Regions from separate parts of the Homo sapiens genome. Here regions 1 and 3 are each linked to region 2. The links are contacts of gene promoters, found by promoter capture Hi-C in blood cells and fetal thymus (Javierre and others, 2016). All regions are on one chromosome and are shown on one strand. Each heading gives the region's core, a stretch centred on a gene start or on the middle of the fragment in contact. The rest is flanking DNA. Distances are from core to core; before and after follow the strand shown. Region 1 has its middle 230 kb from the start of LINC03007. Region 2 holds the start of NPVF (neuropeptide VF precursor). Region 3 has its middle 210 kb from the start of LINC03007.

Evidence for each region. The method cuts DNA at HindIII sites, captures the fragments that hold promoters and counts their contacts. A CHiCAGO score of 5 or more calls a contact.
Region 1: a contact is called between a fragment that was not itself captured here and the fragment with the promoter of NPVF in region 2, in 1 of 17 cell types (monocytes). The highest score is 5.1, in monocytes.
Region 3: a fragment that was not itself captured here is called in contact with the fragment with the promoter of NPVF in region 2 in 1 of 17 cell types (M1 macrophages); the score reaches 5.1 in M1 macrophages.

Annotation. Positions count from the first base shown.
Region 1 is chr7:25,555,616-25,559,228 of GRCh38, reverse strand. No RefSeq gene overlaps it. Among named protein-coding and RNA genes, the nearest start is that of LINC03007, 230 kb to the left of the region's middle. The HindIII fragment of the contact is 9,306 bases long and covers 1-3,613 here.
Region 2 is chr7:25,226,335-25,229,824 of GRCh38, reverse strand. NPVF (neuropeptide VF precursor) reads left to right here and starts at 1,339. Exons shown (of 3, transcript NM_022150.3): 1 at 1,339-1,523; 2 at 2,799-3,199. The coding sequence starts at 1,386. The HindIII fragment of the contact is 394 bases long and covers 1,047-1,440 here.
Region 3 is chr7:25,578,071-25,581,340 of GRCh38, reverse strand. No RefSeq gene overlaps it. Among named protein-coding and RNA genes, the nearest start is that of LINC03007, 210 kb to the left of the region's middle. The HindIII fragment of the contact is 797 bases long and covers 1,563-2,359 here.

The DNA of each region.
Region 1 (3,613 bases), core at 564-3,063, 330 kb before region 2:
AACAACTTTGATCAATCCTCCTTTTAATGTATTTCTTTTGGACAATTTAGAAAATTGAGATGAAATTCATATAATATAAAACTTACCATCTTAAAGTGTACACTCACTGGATTTCAGTATATTAACGAGATTTTATAACCATCACTACCATATAATTCCTGAACACTTCATTACCCCAAAGAGAAACCCCATCCCTGTTAGCATCACTCTCCACTCCCCCTGCCCTAGCCCCGGGCAATGACTAATTTGTTTCCTGTCTGTAGGGATTTGCCTATTCTAGACAGTTCTCATCAATGGAACCATATAGTATGTGGCCTTTTCTGTTTTGCTACTTTCACCTAGAATGATATCTTCAAGATTCACTTCTGTTGGAGCATATGTCAGGACTTCATTCCTTTTTATGGCAGAATAATATTCCATTGTATGGATGTACCACATGTGGTTTATGGTTGATCCATTCAGGCCAAGTTCTTTTTCAGCCTTAGGTTCTACCCTTGCAAAATGAAGAGATTAGGGAAGACGATGGCTAAGGATTCTCCCAGCTTTCAAACTATGTTTGTGCACCCTCCTTTTAGCCACTGCTGCGTTGTTTTGCATCAGTCTCTGCTTTGACTCAGTTCTAACTGACCTGTTTTCAAAGATTAGCCTATTCAATTCCTCAGCACGTGTTTTTCAATCCTATCCATTTATATGTATCCCCAAAATTTAGAAACTAGTTTGGAGATCTTACCTAATTTAGGCCTTTTGGGTAGATGTCTTTAATGAAATATTCCCCTTCTTCAATTATCCTTACAACATTACAGCAACCATTCAAACTATAATGAGCTGGGCCTGTGCATAGGAGGCTGAAATTTTTTCAATTACAACCAACAGAAAACTTCTTTTAAATATCTGTGGCATTTCGGACGTCCTTGGGAACAATTCAAGGTCTCTTCCAACGTTCCCACACTGCCATTCTCAATGCTGAATTCCAAAAAAGAATTTTCATCTGTCACTTTAAAATTTCAACAAATCCCAACAGCTTATTTCCACTAAGCCTGTAAAGGATCAGAAAGATAAAGGAGGAAAGGGCTTATGCAGATAAGGAACTATCAATAAATCCTCCAACGGTGTGAGTACAAAGCATTGTTCACAGAGTTCACTTGAGGATCTGTGCCTGCTTCTTAACTCATTGCCTTCACTCTTGTTTTATTAGATTATAGAATAGCACATAGGAACAACAGTCAGAAATAACACAAGGCTTCTTAGGCAGTACAACAAATACATATTTAATATGAGAAGAGAAATTGTAAATTACATACAATGTTATTGGATTTTATGCTCTCTCTCATCCCCCCAATGTATACATTTAAACAGGAATCGCCCGTTTCATCCCCTCACCTTTCTCTGACATCAGGTAAGCCCTGTTTTGCTTTCAGCCTGTTCCTTTGTTACATAACCACACTCTCAGTCCATTCTTTCATTTCCTCCCAAGTGCTTTCCATCACACCGTGGCCTCTGAACCTCACGTTTGAGACACCTCATTACACCCACTGGCACGTGGTGCTGAAGCGTTTACTGTGATCAGCCCAGGACATTCTTTGCTTGCAAATGCTTTAGTTTCTTTGGGAGATAAACCAAGAAATCTGCAAATTCATACCTAATCTGTCATAGCCCTGTCACTCAATTCAATCCTCTCTAAACAAAATCCTTTTGGTGAAAGGAAGACAATACCCCCGTTTCATAAATAATTTTTTCCACCAACCTTAATCTGCTGTCTATGAATATTAATGAGTCTCATCGATTCATGTCTCCATTTTATGTCCTATATTAGACACCTTCCCAGAAAGCTAGCTGTCAAGGTTGCAAAGGAACCTATTTCACTTTCACATTAAATTAGCAAAATGAAAAAGGGCGACTTCTTTTGCTTGTAGGTTTCAAGAGATACCCCTTTAGCCCTACACTCTGATTTTTTTTACATTGTTCTTAAATTACAGGCTGATCTTTGCAGGAAAGAGAGATAGGTCACTTCTTTTTGTTTGTTCCAGGCAAGAGTTGACTGGTAATTGGTGACCTGATACCATGGAAAATTTTCAGAGACCTACAAAATGTGTTTCTGTGTTTTTCTCTTACCGCTAATTGTGACTTCTTTGCTTGCCTTTTTTTCTTTTTCTTTTTTTTTCTTTTTGGTGCCTTCCTGGTTGGGTCTATGTCTGAATTCCTATGAGATTCTGCTTCTTTTGGCTATTCCTGCCTTTAAATATTTTTCCAGGGGACAGCAGATTAAATAGGTTTGTTTCCAGGGCTGCTGCTGGCTTGTAGGGAATCTTTGTGAAAATTAGAAGAGTGGTCTTCTGACAAACTAATTAGAAAATGATGTTATGACATTTCCTCTGAAGGGACACATTAGGAAAAGGAGCCCCTCTCTGCGTGGACATAGCTGTGTACCGGGGTCCAGATTCTGTGGCGGGGGGCGGGCTGCATTTTAACACCCACTCTCTCTCCACGGGGCGCCTTGGTTCATTTCTCTCATTAAATCTTTCACAGGTCTCTCTTAGCTTATTTCTCGGACCCAAGATATTTCTGGGACACCAGAGGCCTACCCTTTATGCTTAGTTCTCTTTCAATTGCAATTCGCTTTTTTTTTCCTTTCCTCTTTTTCACAGCATTCATGTTTAACCTCTTGTTTATCTGCCAGGTTTTACTGAAGCACCTTCACGTTTACAGCATTGAGCAATGTGAATAGGAATTCCAATGACATCCTTGGATTCTTTTGTTTATTTGGTTGGTTGAGCTTTTTAATACATGCTTTCACATGTTTCACAAAGACTTGTTTGCCCATAGCATTCTGTGTTGCTTAAATGACAAACATGGCTAGTTGCCAGAGGGGGCCATGTTATTTGAGGGGACCCTGGAAGCCTGCTCTGGTTCTAAATATACTCCTACCTTACTTTCCACACATGCCTGAAATTCCATCTTAAAGTCATATTCTTTTTGATTAAGTAAATGTAATATAACACACTTAGAAATAACAAAGTTCACTGTATCAATAATTAACACTTTAGTGAGAACTAGCTTATAAAATCCTATTCCAGGGACAGCTATGAGAAAGAAGGAAGGGTTTGGGGCATATAGGGTACTCACTCTTTGGAGGGTAGGCCTGGCTAGGGGGGCATAATACAATTTGAGCACATTGGGCATTTGGGGGATCTCTGAAAGAACCAAGAACATGGAAGGCAAATTTTCCCATGCCAAGTTTTTGTCTACAGTAATCCCAGCGTAGGGCTTGGTATCAGCTGTTCAACAGTATTGGTGTTTTCCAAACCAACTAAGGGTGGGACTTTTTTTAACTTATTGGGGCAACTGAGAATTTGAATTTCTGCTTTGGAACGAAGTCAATCACTCCCTATTTTGTCCTTTCTGGTATAAACATTAAATTTTCTCAAAGGCCCAGGATTGATGTTAGCACGACAGCATATACACATCCAAGGAATTAATTTCTCACATGAACATGGATGTCTGTGGAAAGATCTTTGGGTCATAGATCACAAATGCAAGGAATATTGAAGAAATTAGGGTCCTTAAAGATCATCATTAGTCCAATCTTAATGTGGGCTGCACACACATTTAAGAG
Region 2 (3,490 bases), core at 90-2,589:
TGCCTCCTACTGTGGGGTTCTTGGCTACTACAAACCAAAACAAATGAAGCCAATGATGTCAAATGCCTTAAGAGAGACCATAGGCAAGTTTGTATCACAAGAGTTCACCCACTGTGGTTTTTCAACTTTCTGGCTTGTTCTGGAGATCAATATGAAGAAAGATCTTCACTTCTGCCATCTCACGTCTCAAATTACATACGGTAGGTTGGTGAGAGAGGTGAGAGGTGGCACAGTTCTAGACACAACAGAGCAATTTTACAACTCTTTGTGAATTACCTCTAACTGTCTGTGTCTAGAAGTAGCTGGACTGTAGGAAATCCATGCAAGTCTTTTTCTCCTGAAAGGGCTGAAGGGACTGGTGGGAACAAGTAAAGGTGTCTCTAGAACCCAGGCAGTCTAGTGATAAGGCAGATATTTAAGAACAGTCAGCTGCTCCAAAAGAGATTCGCTTTGGCATTTCAGTAAATGCGCATTTATTTCTGTAAATTCTCTTTTAATGTCATGATGACAGCACACCTTTGGCAATACGCGATTACCTAAATAATATGCGTCCTGGGACCAATAGAGTTAGCATGTGTATGACTTACCAAGCCCCTGCTAGTCTCCCTAAGGACTTTGAGAGGGAAGGTAGGATGCAGCATCTTGATAGAAAGTTTTGGTGATTGACACAGCTTTACCAAATAAGACCCATAGAGCAAATACAGAGGGCCTGACTGCCTCCAGCTTCTCCTGAGACGCCAGTTTGTCAAAATGCCTATCAAGTATTTGCTCATATACACATCCTTCATGTTACGGCTAACATTGACCCCTGAAGCTTTTTAATAACCAAACAGCATTTTACAAAAAAACTAATTCATGGCATTTTGTTGGGATATTATAATTTTTTTCACATTCTTAATTTTGCTTGACATTTTGAAAATACTACGCCTAACTCTTTTGTGCAGATTAAAAAAAAAAAAACATAGCTAGCATGGATTGAATACTTCCTTTTCCTTCCCTCAAGAATTGACACAAACACCAAAAACAAAATACTTTTTGTTTAAGCTTAGAGAAATGAAGCATTCTGTCTGTTTGGAATCTTAATTACTATCCCCCCAAACTTACCTAATTAGAAGCTCTTTTATAATGAGGAAAATTATTTTCAAAGTTAATGAATTTGCAAGCACAAACATTGCTGTCTTCCCAGAATGAATTATTCACATTCCTTACATGCATATTTTAGTTGTACACTCTAATTAATATTAGTACTTAAAATGTGTGAGATTGATTTCACTGTTTAAAAAAAACTTTCCTTTGTTTTTAGACGATATAAAAACACCACAATTTTTTTCTCCTCTCATAAACATTGGGCTGCACATAGAGACTTAATTTTAGATTTAGACAAAATGGAAATTATTTCATCAAAACTATTCATTTTATTGACTTTAGCCACTTCAAGCTTGTTAACATCAAACATTTTTTGTGCAGATGAATTAGTGATGTCCAATCTTCACAGCAAAGAAAATTATGACAAATATTCTGAGGTAAGTTTTTTAAATCTCTCTAATGTGAGTAGCATTAATTACATAATATTAATCCTAAGTCTAATGATTTTGTAAAGACTAAGAAGTAAGTTGGTGTGTACTCTGTTTTTTTGTGAAATTTCAGCCTTCCTCTGACAATGTATAAATGTCACTTGTTTATTTAGCACGACAGCAATCAGGCTGGCCTCTGTCATGACAATTGTACTGGTGAGTATGGTACTTAGCAAGCATACAGCGCATTAATAATTTTCAATCAACTCACAAGTGCATATTTGTAATAAATGGTTGGCAGAAATAAGATTTGGGTACATTTCAGCTGGACATTCAAATTGTTTTAAACTACAAACAAACAAACAAAAAACACATTTCTTTTGGGCTTAGCAATTACAAACTGGCCAATGTGTACTAAATCTATATCTTAGTAAAGTGTTTACCTGTAGATGGTAAAATTGCAAATTGTTTTTATTTTCTTTTATGTGTTTTCCAAATCTGATGAAATTAGCGTGTATACTCATTTTACTCAAGGGATAATCAGAAAACAATCATTTAAAAATTTCCATATGGACAAGCTCCTATGGTAAAGACTAAATCTAATTAAATATTCTCTGTATTTGAGATGGTTCCTACAAAGTTGGCATACTTGTGATGCAGTAACCCATAAACCAATGAGTTCTTTGCTAAAAATGTATTTTATATTCTAATAAAAATGCAATTGGTTTCTTGAGAAAGCTTTAGAGTGGTACCCTGAGTAAGATAGAATAAAAAAGAAATCCACTGGGCCTTCTACAACTATACCCCAAAACCTGGCCAGCATCTCTGTTTTGATGTACCGTGTTTCCATGTGCCACTTTGGCCTTTAAAGAGAAACATGAAAAATGAGTGGGAGGTTTCTCTAAAATCAAATTATAAAAATATATAAAATATTCCATAAGCAACATGAATCAAAAAAACCAAAAGAGAATAACTGCAGTAAAATAAACTTTTGCCACATTTCAGTACTTCATTATGTTCCTGCTGCTTGAACTCATTGCTGTATTCACTATATATATTTTATAAATATTTTATGGTTGTCTTACAATAGTCTAGGGACAGAGAAACTATATTGCTTTAAAAAGCTTAATACAAATCATTTAAAAATTCTGCACATATGAACACAAACTTTGTTTATAGCTTTAACAATTCTGCAGATTAAAGTCTAGATTTAAGTTAATTGGGGGTTTAAATCTGTTGCTTATAACAACAGTATGTTATTGTAATGGTCATTTCTAATTATAGCCTAGAGGATACCCAAAAGGGGAAAGAAGCCTCAATTTTGAGGAATTAAAAGATTGGGGACCAAAAAATGTTATTAAGATGAGTACACCTGCAGTCAATAAAATGCCACACTCCTTCGCCAACTTGCCATTGAGATTTGGGAGGAACGTTCAAGAAGAAAGAAGTGCTGGAGCAACAGCCAACCTGCCTCTGAGATCTGGAAGAAATATGGAGGTGAGCCTCGTGAGACGTGTTCCTAACCTGCCCCAAAGGTTTGGGAGAACAACAACAGCCAAAAGTGTCTGCAGGATGCTGAGTGATTTGTGTCAAGGATCCATGCATTCACCATGTGCCAATGACTTATTTTACTCCATGACCTGCCAGCACCAAGAAATCCAGAATCCCGATCAAAAACAGTCAAGGTAAATACCTGGAAACCAGTCAAAGTGCATGGGCAGTTATATAGAGGTGGTCTAGAAACTTTAAAAATGACTACATCTTTTCAACATAAGTTTCTAAGACAGTAAGTTTCCTAGCAGGAGAGAGAGGCAAAGACACAAGGAACTAAATACCTGTAAATTGGGAACTATAGAAGGCCAGGTATAATAAGCATGGCTCAAGGTATAAAATCATAGGATGGCTTCCCCTAAGCCACATATAAGCATCAATCTCCTTATCCTATAGCTGCTCACTAAGTCCATGCAATGACAGTA
Region 3 (3,270 bases), core at 712-3,211, 350 kb before region 2:
AATTTAAACATTGAGACCCATCCATGTTGTCTAGTCCAGATTCCAAACATAGAGGAATCTGACTGGTCATGCCATTTCCCTTTGAAACAATTATTTTTTTGGAGCAGGGTTATGGAGAGTTAAGGTGACCTCTGATGTTCCGACCTCTTTCACCCTGAGATATCGCAAGATTCAACTGTCTCATTGGGAAGAGCAGATGGTGGAGGGAACTGGGGTAGAGCAGCCCATGGCCAGCCTCCATCACCCTCAGTGATCCAACACTTCTCATTTGACTGAGAAAAGGGCATAAAACCCTGCCCCTCGCAAGTCTTGCCCTGAAAAACTCCCCAAAACAAGCCAGGAGTCCAGGACTTGCACACTGTGTAAATCTCAAAAGTACCCCTGTGTACTATTCATCTTTCTTTCCCTGAACACCAAGCAGTGTCTGACCCATGGCAGGGACTCTGGGACCATCTGCTGAGAGCTCAAGTGAGTGAATGAATCAATGAATGAATGAATAAATGAATGAATGGGGTGCCCTCCCTTGCAAGCAGTTTTGGTGTAGAGAACATGAAATAAACTTTGGAGTCATATTAATTTGGGTTCAAATCCAGGTTTTGTCATTTACTGGCTATTGACTTTGGGCAAACTCCTCAACTTCTGTAAATGTGTTTCTCATATGCAAATAGATGTAATAAAATCAATGTCAAGGGCTCACAATGCCTGTAAAGTGCTTAGTATAACACCTCTAAATGCTCAATAAATTGTAACTACTTCTCTCTTCACTTTCTTCTTTTTCTTTATTTCATCTTTTGAGTTTTAACATTATTAGTAGTAGTATTAAACTCAGATATTCTTCCCATGTGTTAGAACAGCCTAGCTTGAGTTTCTTCACGTGAATCATGCCCTGATAAGTCATATAAATGGTGTTTCTGAACAAAGTCTTTGTTGTTCACTTATAGCCGTTGAATGTGCATACGCTAAGGAAAAAGACCCACTTGAAACAAGCCTTGTAAAGAATGTAATGTTTAAATGTAATGGGCACCTCCCTTCACTTATCTTCTCCCTCATAATTTTTATTGAGCCCTTACAGTGTGCCAAGCCCAGTGCAAAGCTCTTTATGATCCTATGTTTTTCCTAATCTCTAGAACAGCCAGGAAGGTCGATACCAAGGCAATCTTCTTTTACTAATGAGAAAACTGAGGCTCAGAGATGTTAAAAGATTAGGCTAAGAGAATACAACCAGCAGAGCCAGTATCACGAATGTTATGGTGGTCTCCCCAGTATCCATTTCTTCTTCCCCAGGGGCACTTCTGGTTTTGGTGTGATCAGCTCCATCCTCAACTCCATTGAGTGACTGTAATTGATTTAAAACAACTGCGGTAATCCTATTTCTTTTGGACAGTGGTTTTATTGGATAGCTCAGATAAACCAGACCTCAGCTAATCAGTGCAGGACATTACCCTAGTCAATCCGATTGGCGGTGTGACAACTGGCGGAGAGCAGTTGTCCCTCTTTTTCTCCTGCTGGCCCCTAATGAAAAAGCAGTTAGCCTCACTTGCTGCTGGAGCCAGCCTGAAGCTTTGAGAGGAATCGGGGAATCAGTCTGAGGATGGAGCTGAAACAGCAGAGTAGAGAGAAAAGGAACTACTGGTGACATTGAGCTGCTGAACAACCAACCTGGAAGCGTCCTCTGCCTCTGCTCCAATATCAGCTACTAACTTTTGGTGTTAAAGCTGTTTCACTTGTTTTTTCTGTTACTTGCAATCAAAAGCATTCTAAATGACACAGCAAGATTGAAACCCAGGCTTATCTGACCCCCGTGTGAAACCTCATGTCCTACTGCTTTCCACTTTCCTAGCTGATGGTCTTAAACTCACATCTTTATCAGCAGGCAGTAGCACCACTGCTGAGTCAGCCAGTCTGCAGCATTTTTGGGGCAGTTTGTTCTCTGGCTGGAAGAATGAAGTTCAAGAGGTAACTGGTGGACATCTAAGGGCACTCTTTCAAATTGGTGACTGGAGATCATTAGAACAAGCTGAAGGCTATTTCTAGATATAAAGTAATGAAAACCTCTTCTTGGGATCAATCCAGCCAAGGAAGGCTGTGGAGTAGGGCAGATTTCAATGAGGACCAGAGAGGTAAGCAGACAGCTGCAACAGCTGCTTATCAGATCTTGATGTATTGAACATGTAAAAATGCTGAACTCCTCTGACTGCAATCTAATTTGTACAAGTGCTTAGAAAGAACACTGAATTTATCAGAGCTTGAAGTGCAAAATATTAAAAAATAAATCACTGCTAGTAAAATTGTAGAGCCATCAGGAGATCCATTAGAAAAGACAGTTAGCAAAGTCTATTTGAAGCACATTCATCAAGCTTTAAAATCATAGAGAAGCCCTCATTCACATGGGCATCCTTCTAGCCAGCTCAAGAGGACCCTACAATTGAAGGCAGAGAACAGCTGAATCCTCATAATTAGGAATCAGATCATTGGAAATTTTAATAAAAGTGTTTAAAGATATAAAAGAAAATGCTAGCCAATTCGCTGAGATCAGGAGATGATTTCTAACCTACTTTTTCCTGGTCCCTGCCTTCCCATGTGTGCTGTGGCCAGGGCTGCTTTTGGTCTCCACCTGCAGACTTAGCCATGCCCAAGACCAGGTTATACCTCAGTTTCCCAGACCTGGGGTTTAGGTGACTTGTGGCAATTGAGAATCTTCTGTATTGGGTTTCAACCCACCTTGACTACCTGTAATTGAGGGATCCATGTCGACCTCACTGGGAAGCAGCCAACCTTCTTGCTTACCCAATTCAATCCTCAAGCAGGAGTGGGCATCCTAATTCTAACTGATCAATTTCTCTGTTCAGACCTAAAACCTCAAAGGGGCCTAAGCTCCTTGGACTCTGGGCTGTCCTCTGTCCCCCAAATGATGTGTAGTGTCACACTCGAGGCCAGTCTTTTCAGCTCTGCCCATTTCCCCTGGGCCTCCTGAGGAAGTGGGTTCCAGGCCAAGGTCTGGCCCATTCCTCCTCCCATCTGCCCCGTACAATACAAGAAAGAATGAACCTGACTCATTTGTGTGTTAACCATTTATTTGTTTGATTTTTAATAATGAGGCAATATAGCATGATGGTTTAGGAAGCAATGCTTCTCAAACTATGCATGGTGAATGACCAGTGTTTTCTGTTTTCAACCTACCGTAGAATGAAATGTGGGCTCCAGCAGCACCTTGCCCCACATGTGCCTCATGATGCAAATGCGACAGCTCTGAACTCATCTATATCCTAT